Regions from separate parts of the Homo sapiens genome. Here region 2 is linked to region 1. The links are contacts of gene promoters, found by promoter capture Hi-C in blood cells and fetal thymus (Javierre and others, 2016). All regions are on one chromosome and are shown on one strand. The core of a region is centred on a gene start or on the middle of the fragment in contact, and the rest is flanking DNA. Distances in the headings are between cores, read along the strand shown. Region 1 holds the start of GPX3 (glutathione peroxidase 3). Region 2 overlaps ANXA6 (annexin A6).

Region 1 (6,492 bases), core at 1,223-3,722:
CTCATTGTTTTCACTGTCATGCTCTTTGTGCCAATGGTTAGACCTCCTTTGAAAGCTCACTGCAGCATGAAAGCCCTTCTTAATGCCAGGGCAGGCTCCCCAAGCCTCCCCACCCCACTGTCCATGTCATCAGTTTTGTACTCCTGTTTTGTATGGCTCAGGCTTTCCTTATACTCTTAGGAATGAAAAGCCACAGACACCACCACTGAGAGACTGTCAAAGATCCTTGTTAAATAGGTGGACAACTGAGATCAGAGAAGGAAAGTAATTTTATTACTTTCCGTAGCAATCCAGGGGTAGCATCTCAGGTCTCTGGCTCCTTCTTGTCTCCCCTAAAGAAATAGACCACCAGGGCTGGGATTAAGGTGAGACAAGTGAGACATAGAGGGTGCAAAATGTAGAGAGATGCCCGCTGCCAGGTGCCAGCCTGCACTTGTGTGACCCTAGGTGCCTTCCCTTCCCTCACCCTGCTGGTATCTGCTGGAAACACCTTTGAGAGCAGGGACTTTGGCTTTTAGACAACTCTTTAGCATCTCTCATGGTGTTAACATGTTGCTAGGTGCCTATTTTGAGGGTCACTAGATGCCTACTGATACTAATGAACAATGGATTTCTGACAAACTGATGTGCACACAGATGTTTATATTTTAGGGTAAATACGAACCTTAAAAGACAACAGAACAACATGGAGAGGGCCTGAGACTGAGTCTAGAGACCTGGATTCTGGTTCCCTCCCTGCCATCAGTTGGTTATGGGAACTTGGATAAATTGCTCCTCATCTCTAGGCTTCAGGGAAATGAGGTGGTTGAATAAAACGTATTGAGCACTTACTGTGTGTCAGCCATTGTTCATATGCTCCCAGGCTTTAACTCAGCTAAAGACTTCCTGGCCTCTGTGGTTCCTTCCACTTCAACAGGCTGTGGTTTGAGGTGGGAAGACTTCGTAGAGAATGCAAAACTTGAGAGACATCTTCCAAATTCCCAGGGGGATGTTAATACCTTTAATCATAGTAAAGGTATGGTTTCTCAAGGCATTTCTTGGTCAGAAGAAAGTTCCAGAAGGCACTTAATCCTAGGACTCACACTACCAAGGCTACAGCCAGGCCAACTGCCTCACAATAACCTTAGAACATGTCTGAAGACAGATTTTCAGCTTCTGCCCCTAGAGATTCTAATGCAGTGATTCCAAAGTGGGGTCCAGGAATCTGTATTAAAGGCTTCCCAGTTGACTCTGGTGGTCAGAGAGATTTGAGACTGATTCCATCACATTCCCCATCTGTGAACGGGATCATACCTAGACAGCCCAGCCCTAGAACTGCCTGGTCTGATCCTAAGTGTTCCATGGAGATTTTGTTTTTTTAATGTAATGAATGATTAAGTCAGCAAATACTTTACATCTCTTGTGTGCTAGGCCCTGTGCCAGGTGGTGATTATGGGCCCTATTCTCAAAGGACTCCTGGTCTCCGTCTGTCACTTACTTTAGAAACAAGTCATCTAGCCAGAGCCAGAAGGGCACTGGAGATCACTAATCAATCCCATCATTACATAGCTGAGGAAACTGAGGCCCAGAGAGTAACTGCAACATGTTAAAGACTACACAGGGAGCAAATTTATTTTCTGCTTCTAAGCCAGGTGGTTTGGCCACAGATAGGCCAAGAAGAATACGAACAGACAAGCCTTGCTGGGTTTCCCACTCAGTTTATTACTATTAGACCATTCCCTTTTTCCCCACTCACATTTCTGCGCATTTCCATGGTCTTCATAGAATCTAAGCCTAAAAATAGAGTTTTCCTTGAGTCTTTGGGTCTTCATTTCTGAAGACTCTCATGTCACAGAAAACTTTAATTAAATAAATCGTTATGCTTTTCTCTTGCTAACCTTTTTCTACAGGCATGTCAGCTGTGATCCTTATGATGGGGAGGAAAGGCACCCCACCTTCTCTGTCCCTACAGTCCTAATGCCCTACCCAGAATGGGGTTTTCAAAATCCCAGGACACCCACTCTTTGTTTCTTAAGCACTAAACCTATATATAGTAAATGTTTCTGGAAGTTTAACTTCAGCTCTTGCTGAAATTTTAAACCCTCAATTTCCAGAGGACCATCGCCAGGTGTTTTTAAAACCTCGATAGGAATAAGAAATGCTTCCCAGAATGGAGACTTCCATCAGTTCTAGGGAGCTATTAGCCCCCTTGCCCTGGCTGTAATGGAGACCGCTGTGTCTGCCTCCTTTCGCACTTTGGAGCCAAAAGAGGAAGGGACCGCCTCCCACGTCCACAGGGACCTGACTTCCACCTCTCTGCCCAGATTTGCTTATGTCACTGTCGCCCCGGGACGGGGAGGTGGGGAGCTGAGGGCAAGTCGCGCCCGCCCCTGAAATCCCAGCCGCCTAGCGATTGGCTGCAAGGGTCTCGGCTTGGCCGCGGATTGGTCACACCCGAGGGCTTGAAAGGTGGCTGGGAGCGCCGGACACCTCAGACGGACGGTGGCCAGGGATCAGGCAGCGGCTCAGGCGACCCTGAGTGTGCCCCCACCCCGCCATGGCCCGGCTGCTGCAGGCGTCCTGCCTGCTTTCCCTGCTCCTGGCCGGCTTCGTCTCGCAGAGCCGGGGACAAGAGAAGTCGAAGGTGAGTGAGCCTCCGGGCCGGGGGCCGGGAGAAAAAACCTAGCCCCTCGGTGTCCAGCGCTCAGTGCAATGCACCCCTTTTCCCAGGCTCCCCGCCAGATGGGCAATCCCCAGGTGCGAGAGACCTCCTGAACCCCTTTTGCCGCCCCCTCCGCCGCCGGGACCCCGCCCCCGACCGTCGTCGTCTCGTAGTTCCATCTGTTGGAGAGCCGAGACCTGGTGCTTCAGGCGGGCAGAATGACTAAGGGAGGAAGGTCTCTCTCCCCGAGCTCGCACTTTCTCCCCACTGCCACCTCGAGGGTCGCCTTGCTACATCTATGTCACCTCCGTGCCTGAGCTGCTCCCCTTCAGTAGGGCCTAAGAGGGAGGGCGTCACAGAAAAAAATGCCCAGCGTCTGGGTGGGCTGTGCAAGTTCCCAGGGAGAGAGACAAGGAGAAAGGAGAGAGGCAGCTGGGTGGTCCTGGTCCTGAAGAACTGCTGTGGGGGGCTCTTCTACCCCAAGAATGATACAGGCAGGTAGAAATGGCCACTTGGATTCAGGGCATTGGTAGAAGAGGCAGAGATCTGTGCTAGAAAGAGCTCTGGAGTGACAGTGCAGAACACTCAGGACCCTGAGTCCTTACCTGCTCCTGGACCCCCGTTTCTCCATCTGCAGGGGAGAGTTTGGGGGTGGGAGTGCATGGGGCACAATGAAGCTGAGGGCCTCAGAGGGGATGCTTGGAGAAGCTGAAAAATCCACAAGCTGTTCTCTGAAATTTCCTCCCCTGGGGCAGCCTCACTACCCAGGACCCACTGTCCTCATTAGCCTGAGGAAACCTGGTAGTTGGAGAAAGCTGGGGACTGCTAATTCAGAAGAAGAGGTAGAATTCTCTAGAGCCTCAGTCTATTTCCAGCAGGTGTGTGGCCCACACCTGGAGTGGGGATACTGAGGCCAGGAGTGGGATGACCCAGCATGCTTATCTCCTTTGACAGTATGTACTGGGGTGGGCTCTGTAGACCTCTCCTCTACCCAGGGAGTGGGAGTGGGTGGGGAAGGAGGCAGAAGCCAGGTGTAGGGATAGACTCAAAGCGAGCGATTTCTGTCTCCAACTTCCCAACATGCATAACTCACATTTTTGCAAGCTCTGAGCTTTTGTTTCTAAAATCCTCTGGGTCTTCACTTTAATTAAGTTCTTATGAGTCTAGGATTCCGTTTCCAAAATTCTGTCCACTTCTCAGGAAGCCCATTGGAAGCACAGGGTTCCTTCCATGTTACTCACCCCTTTTCGGTCCTCAGCCTAAATCCGATTAATCAGCCTCTCCTTGGAGTCAGTCTAAATGGATGTGAAGCCACTTCGTCCAAGTCCCCTCCTTTTTATCCATCCCTGTTCATAATCCCCAACTCAGAAGGCATTTTCCAGGTCAGGAATGGGATCGATTTTCAACATTGAGGTTTGGGGTGGGCCATAGACAGGCCAGCACCGTGGAGTCAGTCCCAACCTTCAGTTTTGGAAAGGTCAAAGAAGATACAATTGGGCCCTGCCTCAAGAAGGCTAGTGGGGAGAACGTGGACTCCATGAATAACTCATCATAGCTGTGTCTTCTCTGCAGCACTCTGGGGAAGGATAAATGGACTCAGAGAGAATAGGATGGGGATGGTCTAGAAAAGTTTTAGGGTGAGGTGTGATCATATCACATACAACCAGTCAGGACTTGCTGGCTAATGAAAGCCTGGGCATGCCCATCTCTGCTCCCAAGTTCTTAGAGTTCAGATGTCTTAGCTCTGGGTTAGGACCCAACCACTCACCTTACCCCCAACCCCAGGGTAAAGAGATAGGGTTATGGGGCATGTGGAGAATGGAATGGACGAAAGGTGACTCAGCCCCAGAGAGGTGTTTTCCTCCTACCAATTGAAAGGGAGATGCTAGGGAAGAGACCAGGTCCTCCTCTTCTTGCTGCGTCACCTCCCCAGTCCAACTTCAGGCTGCCCACGCTCCTTGTCTCTACAAAAGGACTGCAGAAGCCGGAAAGAGTGACAACTGCTGACGTGCACGGGATCCTAGTAACTGCTGGTTTCTAGGTGACTAAACCTGGCAGAGAGAATCATGGAACCACAGGCTGACAGAGTTAAAGGGCCCTTAAGACAGCCCTGAACCTGACTCCATCTTACAATGGAGGAGCTGGAGCCCCAGCAAAGGGGGTCACATGGCATCAGAGACACAGCAAAGCCCAGCACTCAGGTCTCCTGACTCCCAGACCACTTCTCACAGCATCATATTGATAGGAGTAATAAGACGGGAGAGGAGAAAGACACAAGACCAGCAGCCCCAGCCAGCCAGAGTCCTGGCTGAGTCCCATCATCCAACTCTCAAGCCATTGGAACCCTCTTCTCTTGCCCGGCTGTGGGAGGATTCAGGCACCCTCATGGCCTCTCCCCTTATCTCCTCTGGCCACTGTTTCAGATGCGGTGCTCTGGGATTCCACGTGCCCAGAGAAGGGAAGGGGGCTCATAGAGGACTGAGTTGCAGTGATCAGTGGTGAGCACAGCCGTGGCTCTCCACCCATGGGCCACCTTCTGACCCCCACTATCCCTTGACATGAGATTTCGTTCCAAGAGACTCCAGGCCTGTTTTGCTCTGCCAGCAGATTCCCACAACCATTTTGGGCAGCAGCATGCTTATCTCCCTGGACATATGCCCAGACAGTGTAAGTGACTTGCTCAGGGCCACACAGCCAGCAAAAAATAGAACCTAATGAAATAGGGTTCTCCTTGCCACACCCCCAAGCTGAAACTGTGCCCAGAAGCTGGTCCTTCTGTTTACAAGTTCCCATTATTAGGACAACCTGTAATCTTTTTTTCCTCCATGTCTCAGAGTTCATTTTTGGATCATGGCAGAGTTAAAAAAGTGGAGAGGCTATAGACATGCCTGGCTTTCTGGCCACTAGATCTTTGTGGCGGTCTAGGGTGTATTTGTTGTGCCCCAGTTTGTCTGCATTTTAAGGCGGAACTGGCCCTGGCTGGGAACGAGGAGGTCCAGGAGCAGTAGGAATGTTGATCTTAGGTCTTGGGCCTGCCTCCAGCACCCACCAAAAGTCACCGGATGTGGAATATTAGACTCATGTAAAGCAGGAAGTTTGCACCAGAGCCAAGAAGAGAGCTTGCAGCTGCCAGGGAATGGCCTGGCGGAGGAAGCGCAGCCTCGCCCAGCTCAGCAGACCTGCTTCATGACAGAGGCAGCTCTTCTGCACTCTACTGGGGCCACGCCCTGCCAGCATATATCACTCCCTTCACCTGGTCAGGCCCAGGTACCTTGCCTCAACAGCAAGTTCTCCAGAATTGAGGGGAAGAGAGGGAGTGAATTTGCTTCTCTAACTCCAGCCACCTGTCTCTGCCCTCTCCTGGTCTATAATGCTACTTTGCATTCCATTTGTTTATTGTCTGCCCACCTCTCAAAGGATATCAGGGCCACAAAGGACCTTAAAGACCACCTTATACAATGGTTTCAAGGTTTCTCCTTTCCCATCACGACCAGCCCACCTGCCAAATTGTGTCAATGATGCAATGACATCCTTTCAAGAATAGTCTCAGAATTTTGTTGTCTGTGTCACGGGCAGAGTAGGCTCATAGGCCACATCCTACTAGCCAGCAGTGACCCCAATCCCCTCTCTCCCACTGATCATGATCCTATCAAGCCATCATGGTTGACCTGGTTGGAGAGTTGGTTCAGTTCAAGGTTCTCATTTTATAAATGAGGAAACTCAGGTCCGAAGAAAAGAAAGGGCCAGTCCAAGACCACACAGGGAGTTAATGGCAAAGGGACATGGAGCCCAGGTCTCCCAGCCCACAGTCCACTGCACTCTGTCCCTCCTTGTCCTGGAGGCTGACTGTG
Region 2 (6,492 bases), core at 3,299-5,798, 100 kb after region 1:
CACAGATGATTGCTATTTTCTTCTTTTTTACTCTATTTCTTCAAGTCTCCACAGTGAACATGTATTATTTTGTTAGAAGAAAAAAAGTTTTGTGCTTAAGATAAAATGCTAAATTTTTTTTCTTTTGAGACAGAGTCTTGCTCTGTCGCCCAGGCTGGAGTGCAGTGGCATGATTACGGCTCACTGCAACCTCCGCCTCCCAGACTCAGGTGATTCTCCTACTTCAGCCTCCCAAGTAGCTGGGGCCACAGAAGCATGCCACCATGCTTGGCTAATTTTTGTATTTTTTGTAGAGACAGGGCTTCACCATATTGTCCAGGCTGGTCTGGAACTCCTGGACTCAAGCCCAAAGTTTTAGGAATACAGACGTGAGCCATCATGGCTGGCTTACATTTGTTTACTCTTGGATTTGAGGAGTGATTTATGAACTGAGGCGTTACATGCCCTGGACTAAGGCAGGCTGGGGACCTGTCATGCAAAGATCTGCACACAGGGAAGCAGGGAAACTATCAGGGAGGAGAGGAGGCAGGCAAGATTGACTGATTGATTGACTGAATGAGTCAATGACTAATTCACTCATTCAGGTACTTGTTAAGACACCTATTATGTGCTAGCCACTGTGCAAGGTGCTGGGGCTACAACTACAAAAAAAAAAAAAAAAAAGTCCGGGCGTGGTGGCTCACACCTGTAATCCCAGCACTTTAGGAAGCTGAAGAGGGCAGATCACTTGAGGTCAGGAGTTCAAGACCACGCTGGCAAACATGGTGAAACCCCTTCTCTACTAGAAAGACAAAAAAATTAGCTGGTCGTGGTGGCGTGCGCCTGTAATCCCAGCTACTCAGGAGGCTGAGGCAGGAGAATCGCTTGAACCTGGGAGGTGGAGGTTGCAGTGAACCGAGATCACACCACTGCACTCCAGCCTGGGCGAAAGAGCGAGACTCCGTCTCAAAAAAAAAAAGAGAAAGGCAAGAGGCAAGACATGTTCTCTGTCCTCAAAGAGGTTACTGCCTAGTGCTCTAATGGTCCTGCCTTCTCAGATCCTAGGAGATTCATCCTGATTGAGATCTTCAATCATTTCTTTGTTAGAAGCAGGTGTGTGGTGAGGCAATCAAGAAAGTCCTGAGACTGGGTCTAGCCCTCGTCTCCCCCTAACTCACTGACTCTCTGAGCCTCTCTGTTTCCCACTTGGAAACTTTGAAAATGGAAAGGATTCAGTTGGGTTACCTCATCGATCTCTTCTATTTCTGAACCCTGTGTCTTTAGATCGTTTGCTTTTTGGCTTAGGTATTTTAAGAAACAATCATCTCAATCTGCTTAGCCTAGGCAATGTTTTTATAAAGTCCTCTAGCTCCCCATTGCTGCCCTCCTCTTAATGCGCAAGGGGCCAAAAGCACTACTGGTTTTATGCGGTTGTCAAGACAGGCTCTAGAGTCAGAAAGACTGGTCTGAACCTCAGCTTTGCTACTTCATAGCTCTATGACCATGACCAAGCAACTTAACCTCCAAGTCTCAGTTTCCTCATCTGTAAAATGGGGACAAAATAAGAGCCCTGCCTTGTGGCTTGAGGAGGCAACTAATTGAACTAATGTACCTAACCTGGGAGAGTTACCATATGCTCTTTATAAACAGTAGCCATTAGTACAATTGGTACCTTGGGAAGCAAAGCAGTTCTAGCAACTTCTGGGCCAGGACATAATGCTTTCTTGTTTAATGTAGGGTCAGGTCTTCGGAGTTAACAATGCCCTTCATACCTGTGACCTTGATTGACCTGTCCTAGTTTGAAGGGCAGAGGTGACCATTTCCATTTCCCAGATGAAGGCACAGAGGATTGGGAAGTGTAAGGAATGGCCCAGTCACACTGTGAGTGAGTGGCAGGTCTAGGCTGGAGTACAGACTCCAACTGCTGGTGCTTTCGTTCGAGACCCACCCCACTTCCTCCAGCGGCTCCATGAGACCCTTCTGACACCAGTGGGCATGTGACTTAAGCTGAATCAACTTGGAGTAAATGCCAAGCCTGTTGTTGGAGCTCCTAGGAAGAAGGAACTCTTTCTGCTGGAGCCGCTAGCTGGCGGGATGGACATATGCCACCATGAGGAGAAAGGCTGCCTGAGAGTGAAGCCAGAAGGGAGGACAGCAGAGCCAAGACAGGGGTGAGCCAAGGGTCCACAGAACATCATTTGAGTCTCTGGACTCAGAGCTAGTCCTGTAGTTTTCAGTTATAGGAGCCAACATCTCCTTTTGTGTTTATGCCAGTTTGAACTGAGTATGGGAGGAGTTCTACCAAGAAGTTACAGCTAATCCACCTGGGCTTATGAGGATCACCTGTATCCCTATTGGCACCCGCAGACACTAGACCCCCTGGTGCCACACTGTACCTCCATGGCCTTCTTCAACTGCTTGGCATCGTAATGGGCCGGTGGCATCATGAGCCCCAGAATCAGCCTTGCCAGGTCTCCAGAGATCTCAGACTTCAGGTCAGTCATTAAGTCCTGCAAAGGGCAGAGCCACAGTCATGCCAACATCAGCACTTGCCCACACATGACTCAGGATGGGAGAGATGGAAAGAGAAAACAGGGGTTCCACATGAGGGATCATGGAAGCTTGTGTCTGTCTTTGCTGATGTTGTACTTATTATTTAGATGAAGCCAAAGAGGGTAGGGAAAAAACAACCAGGAGGAAGACCCACTCTCCTTGACACAGGAGACAGGAACGGGAAGGCAGCAGAGCTGAAGGACACTGTTTCCACTCAGGGGGAAATGCATCAACCTAAGCCAGATGCCACCAATGTGCAATAATCCCTGACACTCAGTTGGGGCCTTGAAGCCAGCTCTGTCTGTGCAGAGGAATTGCAAGATGCCCAAAGCACACTGAAAACAACTCATAGCCCTGATCTTGGCCCCATGCTGTGCCTCTGAGTCCACTGAGCAACTCACACAAGTGTTGCCCATCACAAGGAACTGGGGGCATGGAAAGATATGTCTGCCCAAACCCAGTGCTGGAGACACTCTGAGATCATATGACCACACAGGGTCCCTCTGCCATGAAGACCCTGGTGCCCAACTGTGCAGAACCGATGGGGACAGGCTGAGCTCAATCAGGCAAGGTGCATGCATGTTGCACAGAGAGCCCAGGAGGAGGTCCTTACCCGGCCAAAGTGAGACTTGAAGGTCTGCCGGATCTGCTGCCGCTGGACATTGCTGCGGTGCGTGATGATATCGATGATTGTGTCTTCGTCAGTCCCTGAGTCACCAAAGCCACATGCCTCAGAAGAAGGCCTGTGGCTCTCGGCTTTCCCCATGCACCGCCCACTGATGGCCCCTCATCGATCTTTGTCAGGGTAGAAGCCTGGCTAAGCGGCCATGTGCTCCTGAGTCCCTGCAGTCCGCTTGCCTATGGCTCAGGCCACTGATTTCTGCTGGACTCCTCCCTCCCTTTCCTTTTGACACGCTGAGGAAAAAGGACAGCTGGGAGGTAGAGAGCACTGGGTTGGGAGTCAGTGCCTCTGAGTTCTAGTTCTGGCTCTGGCAATGGCTGCCCACCCTGGGCAAGTCCCCTTCCCTTGATGGGACTTGGTTTCCACATCTGTAACATGAAGAGGCTGGAGTAGTCACCAAGGGATCCTTCCAACCCTGACAGTCCAAGTCCTGTTAGCAACTCTATGTCCTTTCTCTTCAGCTCTCTGGAAGCTGGACCCTGAGTCCCTCTAACCACAGCAGGTTGACTCTGGAAGGCATTAGAATATCACTTCCTGCTTCTCAGATTAATGCCATCAACCACAGACCCAGCACAGGGGTCTTTCATGGCATTTTTACCTCTAGCATCCTACAGTCCCAGGCGAGCTTGGCAGGTATCATCATTCCCATGAGACACATGGAAAGGAGGCTCAGGAGGGTGATGGACTTAACCTAAAGCCTCCTGGGAGTTGCTGTCAGACAGATGGGGCAGAAAGGCAAAGAAAGCCAAACCCTAGATGGCCTGTCCCAGGCTGGACTTTCTGAGCACAGGCCCAGCTGATCTGAACCTGTGGGTGCAGTACTCTTCCCACTGGTGCCAAATATAGGTCTGAAAGACCTGCCCAGCAGGGCACACTCCCACCACAGAATGAGGGAGGGCTCTTGGGTTCCAGGGTCCACAGCCCTGATTTTACACATAGGGAAATTCAGACCCAGAGTGGCGGAGAGGCTCACCCAGAGTCACACGGTGAGTCAGCAGCAGAGCCAGGGCACCATGCCAATTTTGTGACCTGGTACTTTCTTCAGTGCCAGGATACTGCTTCCAGGAGGCTGGGGGACACCTTGGTCCCTGGAAAGGGCTTCTGCCAAGTTCCTTATGAACCCTCTCCTGCCCCTCCTCTCTATACTCTGGGAGCTAGGAGGGTGGAAACTTGAGATCAAGCCTTCCTCATCCTGCAGACTCTAATTTGAAACCTCACTCCATCCCCTGCCAGCCCACGGCCAAACCCACCACACCTGCTGCCCTGGAGACCAACCCTGCTCCCTTCCCATCCCCCATACCGAGTCCCTTCATGGCTTTCCGCAGCGCTTTGGCATCTGCGTCAGGGTTGAAGTCATTGGCTGGGCGCACAGTTCCCTTCAGCTGTGAGAAGCAGAAAGAGACTCAGCAGGTGTCTGAAGGCCCCCCTGGGGACCAGGCTGAAAGACAGCATGCGAGGGTGGGAAGCTCACCCCATGAGCCCAAACCAAGCGGCGTGGGTGGGGAAAGAGGCAGAGGTGAAGCCACAGCAGACAGACCCTGCACGAGAGCTGAGAGAGAGAGAGAGAGAGAGAGAGAAAGAGACAGAAAGATATAGAGAGAGGGAGAGAGGGACTCAGGGCTGGGAGCAGGGCAAGTCCTGATCAAGAGAAATTGGCTAGGCTCCCGCCTGCCACGGGATCTGCCTCGGTTCTAGTGCCCCTTGGCTGCTTATTCCACCGGGGCATCCCCAATTCTTCTGAATCCTACCCTGCCCCCGAGGCCCCCTCTGCCTCTTAAAGAGTCATTCCCCCTGAAAAGGCAGCAGAAAAGTTCTGAAATACCAGAACAGAGTTTCCCAAATTTCAGTCACTCCTAAAGGACTTTCACTATTCCAAATTAGCACACACACTATGCCATCTCTTAATGGTTTTATGTAATTCAACTTCTTTTCTGTCTACTTAAATGCATCAATTTTTGAAGTGCATTTAAAATTACTCCCAAAAGGCAAGGAATTGTATCCGTTTTATCCTGTTACATATCCCAGGTGCCTACAACAGTGTCTGACATAATAGGCACACTCAAAAAATAATTGTTAAGTGGATTAATGAGGCTTGGCACAATGGCTCATGCCTGTAATCTCAGCACTTTGGGAGGCCAAGGCAGGAGGATCGCTTGAGCCCATTGGTTCAAGATGAGCCCAGGCAACATGGTGAAACCCTGTCTCTACACAAATTAGCCAGGTGTGGTGGTGTCCACCTGAGGTCCCAGCTACTTGGGAAGCTAAGTGGAAGGATCACCTGAGCCTGGGGAGGTGGCAGTGAGCCATGATCATGCCACTGTACTCCAGCCTGGATAACAGAGTGAGACCCTGTCTCAAAAAAAAAAAAAAAAAAAGGAATGGATGAAATTAATTTTATATAACTACCATGAATTAGGAAGTTGATACCATGTATCATAAACTGACAATTTACCACAAAAATCAACATAATAAAAACAAAAGAGGTGATATACCATGAAATTTAACATGATGCCTCTACTTGCCAGAAGCTCTGAAACTTAAAGCGAGCTCTCTCAGCTTTCTCTTTGTGAAAAAGGAAAATCAGCAAGTGTTGCAGAGACGGCGGCACCAAACCAAGACTTCCTCTTTGACGTAATCAGAAACGCTGATGAAATTGGAAAGGAGTGCCTTTCTCATTCACTCTGTGGAGTTCAGCGTTATTCAACCCTGCCAAACTAAATTCACTTCTCACATCACCTACAATCATCTGCAAAGATCTCTTGCCTTATCATTTGGGGAACACTGTCCTAGAACATCAGAGCTCAAGAGCCCTAAGAGATCACCGAGATTGCCATGTTAACCCCTCACTTTAAAGATGGAGACATAGAGGCCCAGAGGGAGGGGGCACCTTCCAAAGGTTACATAGCGAATAAGTAACAGAGAGCTCCAAGGTCCCATGCTTTTTTGTGTGGACCAAGTGTTGCAGTCTCTGGAATGGTTTGCCTAAAGTACTTTAGTGAAACCTTTCATTCCTGTCCTTTGTGGACCCCCAGTCTGAGGATGCTCAGGAGGACAACCTGAAATCCTCCAGTGCACCCAGGGATGCCCATCTGTTCTCAGCTTTCATGTCTCTGAGGCCAACTGTTTCGACTCCAGACGGGACAGGCCCCTCCATGGAACCAGCCAGGTCTCCATTTCAGCAAGCCCTGTTAGTAAGTGGGCCAGAACCCTTTCCAGCGTGTCAGAAGCTAATGCAGAAACCAGGTGCGCCCCTCCACCAGTTCACCACTCCAAGGGAG

What was found. Contacts are between HindIII fragments. The CHiCAGO score rates a contact against its expected background, and 5 or more counts as called.
Region 2: a contact is called between a fragment that was not itself captured here and the fragment with the promoter of GPX3 in region 1, in 5 of 17 cell types (M1 macrophages, M2 macrophages, M0 macrophages and 2 more). The highest score is 8.1, in M1 macrophages.

What each region holds. Positions count from the first base shown.
Region 1 is chr5:151,018,119-151,024,610 of GRCh38, forward strand. GPX3 (glutathione peroxidase 3) reads left to right here and starts at 2,473. Exons shown (of 5, transcript NM_002084.5): 1 at 2,473-2,623. The coding sequence starts at 2,537. RefSeq lists an enhancer at 3,918-5,117. The HindIII fragment of the contact is 15,890 bases long and covers 1-6,492 here.
Region 2 is chr5:151,119,772-151,126,263 of GRCh38, forward strand. ANXA6 (annexin A6) reads right to left here. Exons shown (of 26, transcript NM_001155.5): 15 at 4,515-4,596; 16 at 3,146-3,240; 17 at 2,376-2,489. Among named protein-coding and RNA genes, the nearest start is that of ANXA6, 35 kb to the right of the region's middle. RefSeq lists enhancers at 4,074-4,574, 6,383-6,492. The HindIII fragment of the contact is 3,901 bases long and covers 2,599-6,492 here.